Linked DNA regions of Homo sapiens: region 1 is linked to region 2. The links are contacts of gene promoters, found by promoter capture Hi-C in blood cells and fetal thymus (Javierre and others, 2016). All regions are on one chromosome and are shown on one strand. Each heading gives the region's core, a stretch centred on a gene start or on the middle of the fragment in contact. The rest is flanking DNA. Distances are from core to core; before and after follow the strand shown.

Region 1 (6,013 bases), core at 71-2,570, 270 kb after region 2:
GCCCTGAACCCTTCAGAATGGCCCAAGGGGCGCCTGTCCACCCTGCTGCCCCCCACCCTCTGCCCCTCAAGGCCTGGGGCATCCAGGCTCTATGACCTTTCCAAGGGTTTGCTGGAAGGAGCCTGGGGTTGGGAGCCGCTTGTGGAGGCGAACAGGCTCGTGGGCCATGACAGTCCCCTCGCTTCCTCCCTCACACAGAGGAGAGCAGCATCCACCGGGTCACCTGTGGGAGAGTTGGAGCCACTGGAAACGCGGGGCTCAGGGTGCCCGGCACACAGTGGGCCTGCAGGTGGGCACGGTCGGCCCCTCACAGAGTAAGCGGCTGAGGCACTGCCTGTGCTTGCGAGGTGCTCAAGTCACACCCCAGTAAACGGGGAGGGAGCTGCCTCCACCCCACCACCCACCCACCCACCCTCATCCATTCAGGTTCTCACACACACGCCCGTCACCGTCAGCCAGCGCCCCAGCCGGTCCCATGGCCCTCCCAGTTCCGTGAACGGCGCCACCTCTCAGGCCTCCATCCTGCCACTGGCCAGGTCACTCAGACTGTGGAGGGGAGGGTCTGACAGGCCCAAGCCCGACCCTGTGCCCCTCTCTGGCTGCAGCCCCGCATGCCTGAGGGTGGCTGGAGGGGGCCCAGTGCCTGCTGGGTGGGTGTCCCTTCCGGAGGCTCTGCAAGTGAGTTGCCTTCTGAGTCCGCGCAGGTGGTTGGTGGGATCTGGTTTCTGTGGCTATAGGACTGAAGTCCCTGTTCCCTGGCTGGCTGTCAGCCAGGGCCCAGCCTTAGCAAGTAGAGGCCTGTCTCTGTCCTTGCCCGTGGGCCCCCGTCTCGGAGCCGGCAGCGGCATGTCCAGTCCTCACACTTGGAAACTCTCTGGCTTCCCATTCGGCCTGGTCTCTCTTCTGCTTCCAGCCAGAGAAAGTCCTTTTCTGCTCTTACAGCTCATGGGACTGGACCAGACCCACTATCCCAGCCATGTCTAGGATAATTTCCCTCCCTATTTTAAGGTTCGTAACCTTAATTACACCTGCAAATTTCCTTTTGTCTTGTAACAACATCTTCCCAGCTACCAGGGATCAGGACTGGGACATCTTTGGGGGCCACTTCGCCTTCCACCAGACCTGGTTGGCCCCCTCAGCTGCCCTCTGTACGGCCTTGTAACATCCTTTTCCAAAGTCCAAGCAACTCAAGAGAAAAGACCCAAAGATAGTGACATCAGCAGTTCGCCCAGGAAAACCGTCCAGCTGGTCCTCTTATGTGAGTCCCACATGGATGAATCCTGCACGTGGCACAGGGTGTCTAAGCCACTGTTTGCTGCCCCTTTCTTAAATAGAAGTAGATGGCTGGGCACAGTAGCTCATGCCTATGATCCCAGCACTTTGGGAGGCTGAGGTGGGCAGATCACTTGAGGTCAGGAGTTCAAGACCAGCCTGGCCAACATGGTGAAACCCTGTCTCCACTAAAAATGTGAAAAAATTAGCTAGGCGTGGTGGTGCACCCCTGTAGTCCCAGCTATTCAGGAGGCTGAGGCAGGAGAATTGCTTGAACCTGGGAGGTGGAGGTTGCAGTGAGCCGAGATCTCACCACTGCACTCTAGCCTGGGTGACAGCAAGACTCTGTCTCAAAATAAATAAATAAATTAATTAATTAAAAAGAAGGCCATGGAGGGAAACATGTTCCCGAGATCTCTTGGAACTGTGCCGTGGGCAAAAAAAAAATAATTAAAAAAAAAAAAAAAAAAAAAAAATATATATATATATATATATATATATATATATATTTTTTTTTTTTGAGACAGAGTCTCTCTCTGTCTCCCAGGCTGGAGTGCAATGGCACGATCTCGGCTCACCGCAACCTCTGCCTCCTGGGTTCAAGCGATTCTCCTGTCTCAGCCTCCTGAGTAGCTGGAATTACAGGCGTCTACCACCACAACCGGCTAATTTTTGTATTTTTAGTAGAGACGGGGTTTCTCCATGTTGGCCAGGCTGGTCTCGAACTCCTGACCTCAGGTGATCCGCCCGCCTCGGCCTCCCAAAGTGCTGGAATTGCAGGCATGGGCTACCGCACCCCGTCCCCATTATATATATTTAAAAAAAAAAGAAGTCTTGGAGGGTGGGCATGAGCAAAACGAGGGGCAGCCACATAGAGGAAGATGGGGTCCAGGCAGCAGGAGCCAACTGATAGGAGAGAGTGGGTGCCAGATGACAGAGGCCAGGCACCAGGCCACAGGGGATGGTCAGGAGGCTCTGGGAGGAAACTGTTCCAATGTGTCTGAACACGTGGAGAGGCGGCTTACATAGCGGAAGGAGAGTGCAGAGGTGAAGTCACAGCCCCAGGAAGAAACTGGGGCACAAGTGGCCTGGGAACCAGATGCACTCCAGGGAAAATGAGGAACCCCAGCCTGCTGCACGGCTCAGCGTGAGCTGCACCCGCATAGTAACGTAGACACTGAATGTCTGTCTCACCAAAATTATGTTGGGGGTGGGGACAGTTGGGGGGTTCTATGTGTGAGAGGGAATTAAATCCTTCACTTCCAGGGTGGAGAATCAGGAGACCCTGTGCAACACTGAGAACCTGAGAAGTGTCCAGCTAAGCACAGTATAATTATTTTGGGTAGAGATGGGGTCTTGCTGTGTTGCCCACAGTGGTCTCCAACTCCTGGGCTCAACAGATCCTCCCGCCTCAGCCCCCTAAAGTACTGGGATGATAGACATGAGCCCCCATGCCCGGCCTAAGTACATTATTTTTTATTTATTTTTATTTATTTATTTATTTTTGAGATAGAGTCTTGCTCTGTCACCCAGGCTGGAGTGCAGTGGCTCGATCTCAGCCCACTGCAAACTCTGCATCCTGGGTTCAAGCTATTCTCATGCCTCAGCCTCCCAAGTTGCTGGGATTACAGGTGTGTGCCACCATGCCCAGCTAATTTTTGTATTTTTGGTAGAGAGGGGGTTTCACCACGTTGGCCAGGCTGGTCTCGAACTCCTGACCACCACGCCTGGCATTTTTTATTTATTTTTTGAGACGGAGTCTCACTCTGTTGCCCAGGCTGGAGTGCAGTGGCGCCATCTCAGCTCACTGCAACCTCTGCCTCCCTGGCTCAAGTGATACTCCCACCTCAGCCTCCCAAGTAGCTGGGATTACAAGCATTCCCCCCTGTGTCTGGCTAATTTTTGTATTTTTAGTAGAGACGGGGTTTCACCATGTTGGCCAGGCTGGTCTCGAACTCCTGACCTCAAGTGATCCACGCACCTCGGTCTCCCAAAGTGCTGGGATGACAGGTGTGAGTCACCATGTCTGGCCTCCTAAGCACATTATTTAAGCATAAAAAGGCAGACATGAAAAGACTGACCTGAAACATAAATGCTGGGAAAATAAACACAAGGGCATGGGAGCCTTGTGGACGCACAATGGGCAGAGAGGGGCGGGGACTGTTTTTATAACAGATGCATAAACCACTTGCATCCTCAAGTCACACACATGGTTGACAGAATGGGGTGGGAGGAGACCCCACACGAGTCCCACTGGGAGGGGCTGGCCTTGTAGGGGACACAGGGAAGGATCCCTGAGCTCCACCTGGGGTGTGGGTAGGGTGAGGGAGCCCCTCCCTCCAGGGGGAAGGGAGGAAATTCCACCACAGGGATGCAGGAGCCAGAGAACAGCAAGCCCACTCCTGGTACAGTGGGAACTCAGGGGTGGAGAGGAGGGACGGCAGTGGGGCCGGTGCTGCCTCTCTGCTGGCTGGGACGCCCCATGCCCAGCAGTCGGTCCCACGGATACGCCACCTTCCGCGGCACACTGCTTCAAGACTCTGGATCATTGCTTGTCTTCCTGCGGACGACAGGAAGAAAGATGAAGGCATGAGAGAGATGGCACTTTATAAAGGGTCAGAGAAGGGCCTCTCTGATGAGGCAACATTGGAGCAGAGACTCAGGACCTGAGGCACGTGGATAACGGGGCTCCCAGCTATGAAGGGGCCAGCTCGCGGCCACACAAGGATGACCTCCTTGCCCACCCAGGCTCTGCCTTGACCAATCCAGAAGCCATGCGGCCTCTGTGCGACTCCCTGCTCTTCTCCCAGGCCGGGGGCTGGGGCATGGGCTCGGGCCAGGGGCCGCTGTTTCTTGGAGTCTCCAACCAGAACTGAGCTCTTCAGGGGACCTGGATGACGCACTGTTTGGGTGGTTGTGTTTGGGGTGTGATGCGGCCACCCTGGAAAGCCCCAGCCTGTCAGCTCTGATCCGCGTCCCTGGGGTTCACCTCCCACCTCCGTGTCAGAACCTCTTCCTGCCCTTTCCTGTGGACTGGGGGGGATCTGAGTGCCTCCCTCCATGTTTCATGAACCGAAACTGAAGCTGGAGAAGATAGGGCTTATCTGGGGTCAAAAGGAGCCCAGGTCCCCAGCTTTTGTGGGGAAACTTGTTCTGGGGGCTGAGTCAGCCTGGCCAGGTTATATGGGCGTCGGGGATGAAGTGCAGGAGAGGAGTTTGGGGTCATCCCATGAGTGATCAGAGGCCCCTGGGGGCTTGGGTGGGAGCATCAGAGAGTGGGAGGTGCCAGAGCCGTTCTCTGCCTTCAGAAGGAAGATGAGTGAGAAGGTGCAAGGGGAAGAGGAGACTGAACAGAGAAAGAAATTCAAGAGGAGAGCTCTGGAGAGAGAGGCAGGTGCCGATGGAGAAGCTGGCCCATGGGGCGGTGGGTCGGTGGGTGGAACACGGTCCTCCCCACATCTGTCCACAAAACCTTCCAAAAAGTCCCATCTCTTTGCAGAGTAGGTAATAAGAGCAGCTCCCAGGCACCCCTATGTATTTACCAAGCTTTACAGAGCACCAGCCATCACTGGTCCAGTCCATCCTCACAGCTGCTCTGTGGGACAGGTACATTATTCCCTGCTTTCATAAATGGGGAAACCGAGGTACAGGGAAGTGCCTAAGGTCAAGCACTGGAAGGTGGCGGAGCTGGGAGCAGGCAGAGTGACTCGGGGCCCACTCCCACCTCCCCACCCGCCCTGTGTCTCTGGGGTGTAGGGAGTGAGTCCTGCAGCCAGGTGTGGGGGTGGGGGACGGGTTCCACACCAGTGAGGCTGGCCGGGCCCGGGTCAGAGGGTTGATGGGGTTTTTCAGCTCATGGGCAGTACCCAACTGCATCGTGGATTGAATCAGGCCCTGGGCTCTGAACCAACGCAAACTCTTCCAGTGACTGCCAATGAGGTGGCAAGGGAGCCCACGTGACCCTGAGGGCCTAGCACGCTCTTCATTGCCCAGGGAAGCCAGCCCCAGCCTGCAGGGCCACCTCCAGATGAGACACCGCTGGAGACGATGGGTGGCATTCTCAGGGCCTCTTTGTGGAGAAAAATAGGAAACTATGATTATAAAATTAGGCATAAAAGTGAATATTAAGAGTAAATAGGGCCAGGCACGGAGGCTCACGCCTGTAATCCCAGCACTTTGGGAGGCCGAGACGGGCAGATCACCCGAGGTTGGGAGTATGAGACCAGACTGGACAACATGGCGAAACCCTCTCTCTACTAAAAATACAAAAATTAGCCGGGTGCGGTGGCAGGCGCCTGTAATCCCAGCTACTCAGGAGGCAGGAGAATCACTTGAACCCAGGAGGCAGAGGTTGCAGTGAGCCAAGATCGTACCACTGCACTCTAGCCTGGGTGACAGAGTGAGACTCCATCTCAAAAAAAAAGAAAAAAAAGAGAAAAGTTAATTGGCCACGCACAGTGGCTCACAACTGTAATCCCAGCACTTTGGGAATCTGAGGTGGGAGGATCACTTGAGCCCAGGAGCTCAAGACCAGCCTGGGCCACAGTATGAGACCCTATCTCTAGTTTTAAAAAAGTAAATAAATCACAACTGCAAAAAATGTAAAAAGCCAATAAGCAGCATAAGCATAATAAGATCCAATAAATTAACATAATATTTCTCTTAGAGAACTGCCTGATGCACCCCTGAAGTACGTTGCGTTTGTGTTTTTTGAGACAGAGTCTCGGTCTGTCACCAGGCT
Region 2 (7,631 bases), core at 3,025-5,524:
CCTCTCCTGGCTCCTGAGGAGTAATGGAAGGCTCTTGTGTGGAGCTGATGGCCTCTAAACGCTTCTAGTCAGGGCTTGCTTCCCTTAGGCATTCAGCTGATCAAAGAACCCCAGCTCCATTTTCAGGTGCAGCCACCAGCAGCAGTAGCAGTTGGTGCTGACTGGGAGGGCCACGTCATCTGAGCGGCGCCGCCCGTCCATGCCAGGTGCTCTGCGTGCCCACAGCAACTCCTCAGAGCCCAGCAGCATCTAGCAGAGGACACTGGCCGCATGAGGTCACGTGCCCCAGGCCATACCATTGGCTGTGGCCCTACAAGGCCTGGCACTTTGCATCTGCCACCTCCAGGACCCTGTTCCGAAGTTGCTGACTGTACTTTTACAGCCTTTAAAAAACCCTAACAGTGACTAGATTGTTTCTGTGAAAAGCCAGAAGAAAAGCCTGCTAGAACAGGAACTTCGAAGAGCCATCTTGGCTCTGATTCTCCTCTGCGTTGGCTCGGTAGGTGGCCAGACCACCCCTGGGAACAGCGCATCCCGGTGCCAGCTGCTTGCCAAATGCTCCTTTCTGTTTGTTTTGTTTTTTGAGCCACACAGATCAGCACAAGTGCTCCGTGAAACCGGTCACCATATGTGGTCCTTTTCTCCATTCATTCAGTAGATTCCTATCCACCAGACCTTGAGCAAGCTGCTGGGGGCAGCCACGAACCAGACGGGCGGTCACTGCAGCCCCCTGGCCAGGGAAGCAAACACGGGGGCAGTGGAGTGACGACATTTATGAATGTGGAGTCCCCACGGGGTAGGGGTATCTGATCCTGTGGAGAGGCGCCAGGGAGGCTTCCTGGAGGACCCCCCCCACCCAGGCAGATTCCAGAGTTCCAGGGGTGTCCTGTCCGGCTTCCTTGTGTCATAGGGACTATGGCTGTGTCTCTCCTTCGAGAGCCAGAGAGGAAGCAGGCCCCTGTATCATCATCCTGACAGCTCCACCCTGGTGCAGAGCCTGGATCCCTGTGGTGTCTGCTTCACAGACAGAAGTCAGAAAATGCGGCCAGGCGCAGTGGCTCACACCTGTAATCCCAGCACTTTGGGAGACCGAGGCAGGAAGATTGCTTGAGCTCAGGGGTTCGAGGCCAGTCTGGGCAACATGGTGAAACCCCATCTCTACCAAAAATACAAAAAGTTAGCCGGGCGTGGTGGCATGCGCCTGTAATGCCAGCTACTTGGGAGGCTGAGGCATGAGAATCTCTTGAACCCAGGAGGCAGAGGTTGCAGTGAGCCAAGATCGGGCCACTACACTCCAGTCTGGGTGACCGTTTAAAAAAAAAAAAAGGAATCAGAAAATGCTTTCTTCCCACCTACTCTTTCAGTCCCAGTTTGCCACCAGAAGCACAATGCAGAAAATACATTCTTTAACCTCAGAAGTTTCTAACTCATACTACATTCAACCTGCAAACTCTGGTTTTGGTAATAAGCTTATCACAGAAATCCACCCTTTTCCAGAAGTCCACATGATTAGCACTCAGCATCTGGGTACCTTTTGTGTTTGACACAAATACCTACATACAACCGAGGGTCCTAGTCAGGATGGCCAGCGCAGCACACCGACGGATGTGCTTTAACTGGGGAAAGATGCTTTCCACACTCCTCAGCGCTATGGGACAAAAAACTCCGAATTAGAAATCAGAAGTCCTAGAGGTTAATCTTACCTGTGCCACAGGCCAGCTGTGGGACCCTAGGCCCTGAGCAAACCTCTAGAACCCCAGTTTCCCCCCATAGGAAGCAAGTCCTGGTGCTGCCGCCCGAGTTGGGAGGATAATGTCAGTCACCGTGGAGGGGGGCGGCCCCATTCCCCCAGCCTGCTCCCTGCCACAGCCTGCAATAGGTGCAGGCAGCAACGACCATGCTCCAGGACCCCGTGAGAGAAGGGCCCCGCCACTGTGGGAAGGACCCAGGACTTGCCCAGATGCTGTGACCACCCCGTCTGGGGAGCTGCAGCTGGCATCCAGCTCTTCCAGACACGAAAATTCAGGCTGTTTCCTACACTGCTGCCTCCTTAGCACACGCGGCCTTAGGATGCATGAACGTTAATTGGGAAACAGGCAGTTAAAGAAAATGGGGGCCAGGCACGGTGGCCCACGCCTGTCATCCCAGCACTTTGGGAGGCCGAATGGGCAGATCACCTGAGGTCAGGAGTTCGAGACCAGCCTGGCCAACATGGGGAAACCCTGTCTCTACTAAAAATACAAAAATTTGCTGGGTGTGGTGGTGGGCACCTATGATCCCAGCTACCTGAAAGGCTGAGGCAGGAGAATCGCTTGAACCAGGGAGGTGGAGGTTGTAGTGAGCCAAGATTGCGCCACTGTATACCAGCCTTGGTGATAGAGTGAAACTCCATCTCAAAAAAAAAGAAAATGGGGAGGGGTGGCGTGGGTCACACTGGCAGAGTCTCTAGCTGAGTGTGCACCGTGGGGCCTCTCTGCCCTGGCCTCCACTGACCAGTGCTCATGTACCACTCCCATCTGGAATGGAGTTAGTCCCCCCAGCCTGCAGGTGCCTTGTGTGAAGCGTTTCCAGCCAGGCAGTCTCACCTCACTTACCCTGGGCTGGTTCTGTGTCACCTCATGCATGTTGCCTTTGGAGTCATTGCCATATTTGACCTGGTGACCTGTATAAAATGTCAGCTTCCGAGGGGAGACCACTGTCCACAATAACAACAAGGTTGTACACATAGGCAGGCTGGCCTTGGGGAGCATTTGCTGGGCTGCGAGAGCCACCTGGCAGGCAGGTGGGCTGGAGCCAGGTGGGAGGTGGGCGGGAGCCAGCAGGAGTCGCGAGGGTGGGGCCCCCTCAGGCCGCTTCTCTGGGTGATGTCATATTTGCCACACAGCAGCCTGGTGGCCCTGCCTGTTGCCTTTGAAAGAGAGCCTGCCGTGATCCTGGCTGTTTCTGTCTCCAGGTATGATGAAGAATTGGCCCAGGGTGACGGGGCTGACCGGGAGCTGAGAAGCCGTCAGGGTCAGTCTCTGGGGCCCAGAGCAGGCCGATCGAGAGACTCGGGGAGAGCGGTCCTCACCACCTGGAAGTGAGTCCCACCTGGACCTTATCAAAACTACTCACTCCACCTGGGCCCCTGCTGAAGCCCTATTTTGAAATTTCCCTTTTGTAGAGCTTTTTTCCTTTCCTAAGCCCTGTAAATAAACGAAGGCACTTCTTTGGAAGGTTATGGAGTCTGTTTGACTAGTGCTAAAGGAAACAATTCATGCGGATGTATAAAACTCGCTCTTTTTTTTTTAATTTTTAACCTAAGCAGAATTTTCATATTAAAAACTCACTTTTTTGACAGAAAGTAACAGCTTCAAGCATGTAATTTGATGTGTCACAAGGTTTAAACATTAAAAAAACTTTACACTAAATTAAAAACAAAACAAATCTTATAGACTCGTCCTGCCACGAGAGAGGAATGTATTTAACTGACGGCTCTTTTAGTTGCGTTTCTTTTTACTTGACTGCGATTTTTTTTTTTTTTCCCGAGACAGAGTTTTGCTCTGTCGCCCAGGCTGGAGTGCACTGGCACAATCTTGGCTCACTGCAACCTCTGCCTCCTGGGTAGTATTTCTCCCACCTCAGGCTCCCAAGTAGCTGGGATTACAGGCGTGTGCCACCACACCTGGCTAATTTTTGTATTTTTAGTAGAGATGGGGTTTTGACCATGTTGGGCAGGCTGGTCTCAAACTCCTGACCTCAGGTGATCTGCCCACCTCGGCCTCCCAAAATGCTGGGATTACAGAGGTGAGCCACCACGCCCAGCTTACTTGACTGTGATTTTGAAGAAAACAGGCAACTAGAAATATTCCTCGGTAATTTATCTTTACAAAGGCCTTTGTCTAGGTGCTCCCAGGAAGACCTGTTTTCTTTTCTTTTCTTCTCTTTTCTTTTTTTTTTTCTTTTCAGACAGGATCTCGCCCTGTCACCCAGGCTGGAGTGCCGTGGTGCCATTGTGGCTCAACTTCCTGGGCTCAAGTGATCCGCTCACCTCAGCCTCCCGAGTAACTGGGACCACACAGGCACACACCACCACCCCCAGCTACTTTTTAAAGTTTTTTTTGTAGAGACAGAGTTTCACCATGTTGGCCAGGCTGTTCTCGAACTCCTGGGCTCAAGCGATACTCCTGCCTAAGCTTCCCAAAGTGTTGGGATTACAGGCATGAGCCACCACGCCTGGCTTCAAAAAGACCTGTTTCTACCACTTCGGTTTTGTGGATGAGTCTGTTGTAAATGGAACTAGATGAGCACAGACAGGTCCGGCTGTGTGCCTTTTATGACGTCAGCAGCTGGGTTTGCTACAGGGAAGCGCCGTGGGCAGCCAGGAGCTGTGGGAGGAGCGATGGCTGCGGGACAGGCTGCGCGAGCGTGGTTGTTCCCATGCAGTCTCCCGGTAGCCCGGTGACTTACAGGAGTGTATGGAGAGGACCTGAGTTGGTGGGTAGATGGACAGATGCATTTGAGTAATAACTCATGAGTTACAGTGCTGTTCTTAGGAAGGGTCTTTTTTTTTTTTTTTTTTTTTGAGGTGGAGTTTCACTCTTGACACCCAGGCTGGAGTGCAATGGCACAATCTAGGCTCACTGCAACCTCCACCTCCTGGGTTCAGGCGATTCTCATGGCTCAGCCTCCCAAAGAGGTGGGCTTACAGGCGCCTGCCACCACGCCCAACTAATTTTTGTATTTTTAGTGGAGACGGGGTTTCACCATGTTGGCCAGGCTGGTCTCGAACTCCTGACCTCAGGTGATCCTCCCGCCTCCGCCTCCCAAAGTGCTGAAATTACAGGCGTGAGCCACTGCGCCCGGCCAGGAAGGGCCTTTTACTCATGGTCGTATTAACACGTATTTGCTGAAGTTTCACTCGCTGTCTTGAGTTTATCTTTAAAGCTTGCCACCTGTTTTTGTTGCAATGCTAGTAACAGGAGTTTGTTCTCCCAAATGGCACCAAGGGTATGTCCTTCAGATAAGGGTCTTAACTGACTTGCCCAGGCTCTCTCAGTGCCCATGCATGGACGTGTGTCAAGTGTACATGCCATATTGTGTGTGTGTATATGAGTACATATATTTAATGATGTTTCACTGCCAATTAGGGAAAAATAGGTCTTTTCAACACAAATGGTACTTGGCTGGACTCCAAATAAACTACAATTGGTGGGCTTTTCAGCCATTCCTTCTTCGTGATCTTATTGGTATGTGTGTTGTGTGTGTTCCCTGGTGTTTAAGTTTTGTTTTGTTTTGTTTTGTTTTTGAGACAGAGTCTCGCTCTGTCGCCCAGCAGGCTGGAGTGCAGTGGCGCAACCTCAGCTCACTGCAATCTCTGCCTCCCGGGTTGAAGTGATTCTCGTGCCTCAGCTTCCCAAGTAGCTGGGATTACAGGTGTACACCACCATGCCCGGCTAATTTTTGTATTTTTAGTAGAGATGGGGCTTCACCATGTTGGCTAGGCTGGTCTCAAACTCCCAGCCTTAGGTGATCCGCCTGCCTCAGCCTTCCAGAGTGCTGGGAATACAGGTGTGAGCCACTGCGCCCAGCCGTGGGGTTTAGTTTTAATGTGTTTGCTGTTGATGGCGGGTGTGGGATGGAGATCCCCGAGTCAGACTTGGCCTTGTGGCCTGGCTCTGCTGTTTATTAGCTGTTTCCCAAGCCTGTCCCTGGGGTCGTTGCACCTTTGTTTCCCACTGTATAAAATGGGGAGTTCTGTGGCCGGGCGCAGTGGCTCATGCCTGTAATCCCAGCACTTTGGGAGGCCGAGGAGGGTGGATCATCTGAGGTCAGGAGTTCGAGACCAGCTTGGCCAACATGGTGAAACCTCATCTCTACTAAAAATACAAAAATTAGCCTGGAGGCTGAGGCAGGAGAATCGCTTGAACCCAGGAGGCGGAGGTTGCGGAGAGCCGAGATGGCGCCATTACACTCAAGCCTGGGCAATAAGAGCGAAACTCCGTCTCAAAAAAAAAAAGGGGGGGAGTTCTGTTTGCCTCAGAAACAACCAGTACCACCGCACAGGGACCCTGCCCGCACGCCTTGCTGGCTCTGGCGAGCCCTCTTACCTCCCAGGAGGGGGTGTCCTCTGCACAGCTGGCGGCTCCACCTCGGCTCCTACACGCAGAAGTGAAAGACACCCCGTTAACTGTTCCCAGCTCTTCCACCGGTTTTTACAACCCGGTTCTCAGTTACATTGTGTTGTTTTTGCCTCCCTCTGGGAGAAGGGTGGAGTCCCTGGTTGGGAACGTTGGCCTCTGAGGCTCCGGGGCCACGCAGTCCTAATGGAAGAGTCACACCAAGTGGTTAGTTTGCTGGTGACCCAGTTGCTAGGTGAGAGTGAGGCTCTGCTAAGTGGATTTATGTCATATAGTGACTGTCTCATTAATGATTTAGTGATGTCATGTTCTGGGCAGATGTTTCCTCTGAGCACTTCCAGGACACGGGTGGGAAGGGTGCGGTGTTGGCAGCAGGCCTCGGGAGGCTGTCGGGCCAGGAACAGCCCCATTCAGCGCTAGGCTGGGGCTAAGCAGTGAGCCCTGCTGGGAGCTGTCCGGGAGCCGTTGCTGTTTTCTTGTCAGCCCCCACACACTTGATGGGGTGGGTCCCAGGCCAGAGGGTTGCATCCTGTGGTCGTTTTCACCAAGTTTGATAGGCTTGGTTTTCCCAATATAAACCCATCCTCGACTGGGCACAGTAGCTCACGCCTGTAGTCCCAGCACTTTGGGAGGCTGAGGTGGGTGGATCACCTGAGGTCAGGAGTTTGAGACCAGCCTGGCCAACAAGGTGAAACCCCGTCTCTACTAAAAATACAAACATTAGCTGGGCTTGGTGGTTCATGCCTGTAATCCCACCTACTTGGGAGGCTGAGGCGGAAGAATCACTTGAACCCAGGAGGCGGAGGTTGCAGTGAGCCGAGATCGCACCATTGCACTCCAGCCTGGACAACTGAGCAAGACTCCATCTCAAACAAAAGAAAACCACCATCCTTCACCTCCTTTGCACACGGGCTGCTCCCCGGGTATTAGTGAGGGCCTGGTGACAACCTTCTCACTGTCTCCCTTCTCCTCCTCCGCCTCCCACCTGGGCTGCCATGGAGACCCCATCAGTCTGGACCCGCATCTGGTTGCGCTCCACCAGCTGCTAGGACTTTCCTCACAGGGGGCCATTTCCCCTCCACACAGTGGTTCTTCAGGGTGCTCCATAAAGCCTCCTATGCTTGCCACCCATTGGCCTGTTGGCTCACACTGCCACACACCATGTCCACCAGTGCCAAACACACGCAGCTCCTCTCTGAGTGCCCCCAGGGGCCAGCGCACTCTCCACCCTCCCCTCTGGAGCCATTCCCAGCTGTGCTGCGGCCGCCTGGCCCTCTCCCCGCAGCAGCCCTGCAGCCCCTGTGGTCTGGGGAGGCCAAGGTCTCCTGCAGGGCCCTGCCTGCTGGTAACGGCACAGCGACTGGGGCTGCTCAGCGACTGGGCACCCTCAGGCTGTTTGTGTGTCCCCTAATGTGAACTGTGCCCCAGTGGAGGGCCCTGGGGCACGTGAGGACCCTTTGTGAGCAGGTGGGAGCACATCCACTTTTGATTCCAGTCTCTCATTGTGGAAGA

What was found. The method cuts DNA at HindIII sites, captures the fragments that hold promoters and counts their contacts. A CHiCAGO score of 5 or more calls a contact.
Region 1: a fragment that was not itself captured here is called in contact with the fragment with the promoter of TTLL1-AS1 in region 2 in 1 of 17 cell types (neutrophils); the score reaches 5.6 in neutrophils.

What each region holds. Positions count from the first base shown.
Region 1 is chr22:42,763,341-42,769,353 of GRCh38, reverse strand. No RefSeq gene overlaps it. Among named protein-coding and RNA genes, the nearest start is that of A4GALT, 45 kb to the right of the region's middle. The HindIII fragment of the contact is 7,000 bases long and covers 1-4,820 here.
Region 2 is chr22:43,035,228-43,042,858 of GRCh38, reverse strand. TTLL1-AS1 (TTLL1 antisense RNA 1) reads right to left here and starts at 4,274. Exons shown (of 3, transcript NR_125362.1): 1 at 2,595-4,274; 2 at 1,558-1,648. It overlaps TTLL1 (TTL family tubulin polyglutamylase complex subunit L1), which reads left to right. Exons shown (of 11, transcript NM_012263.5): 11 at 2,954-3,343. The coding sequence ends at 3,083. The HindIII fragment of the contact is 751 bases long and covers 4,178-4,928 here.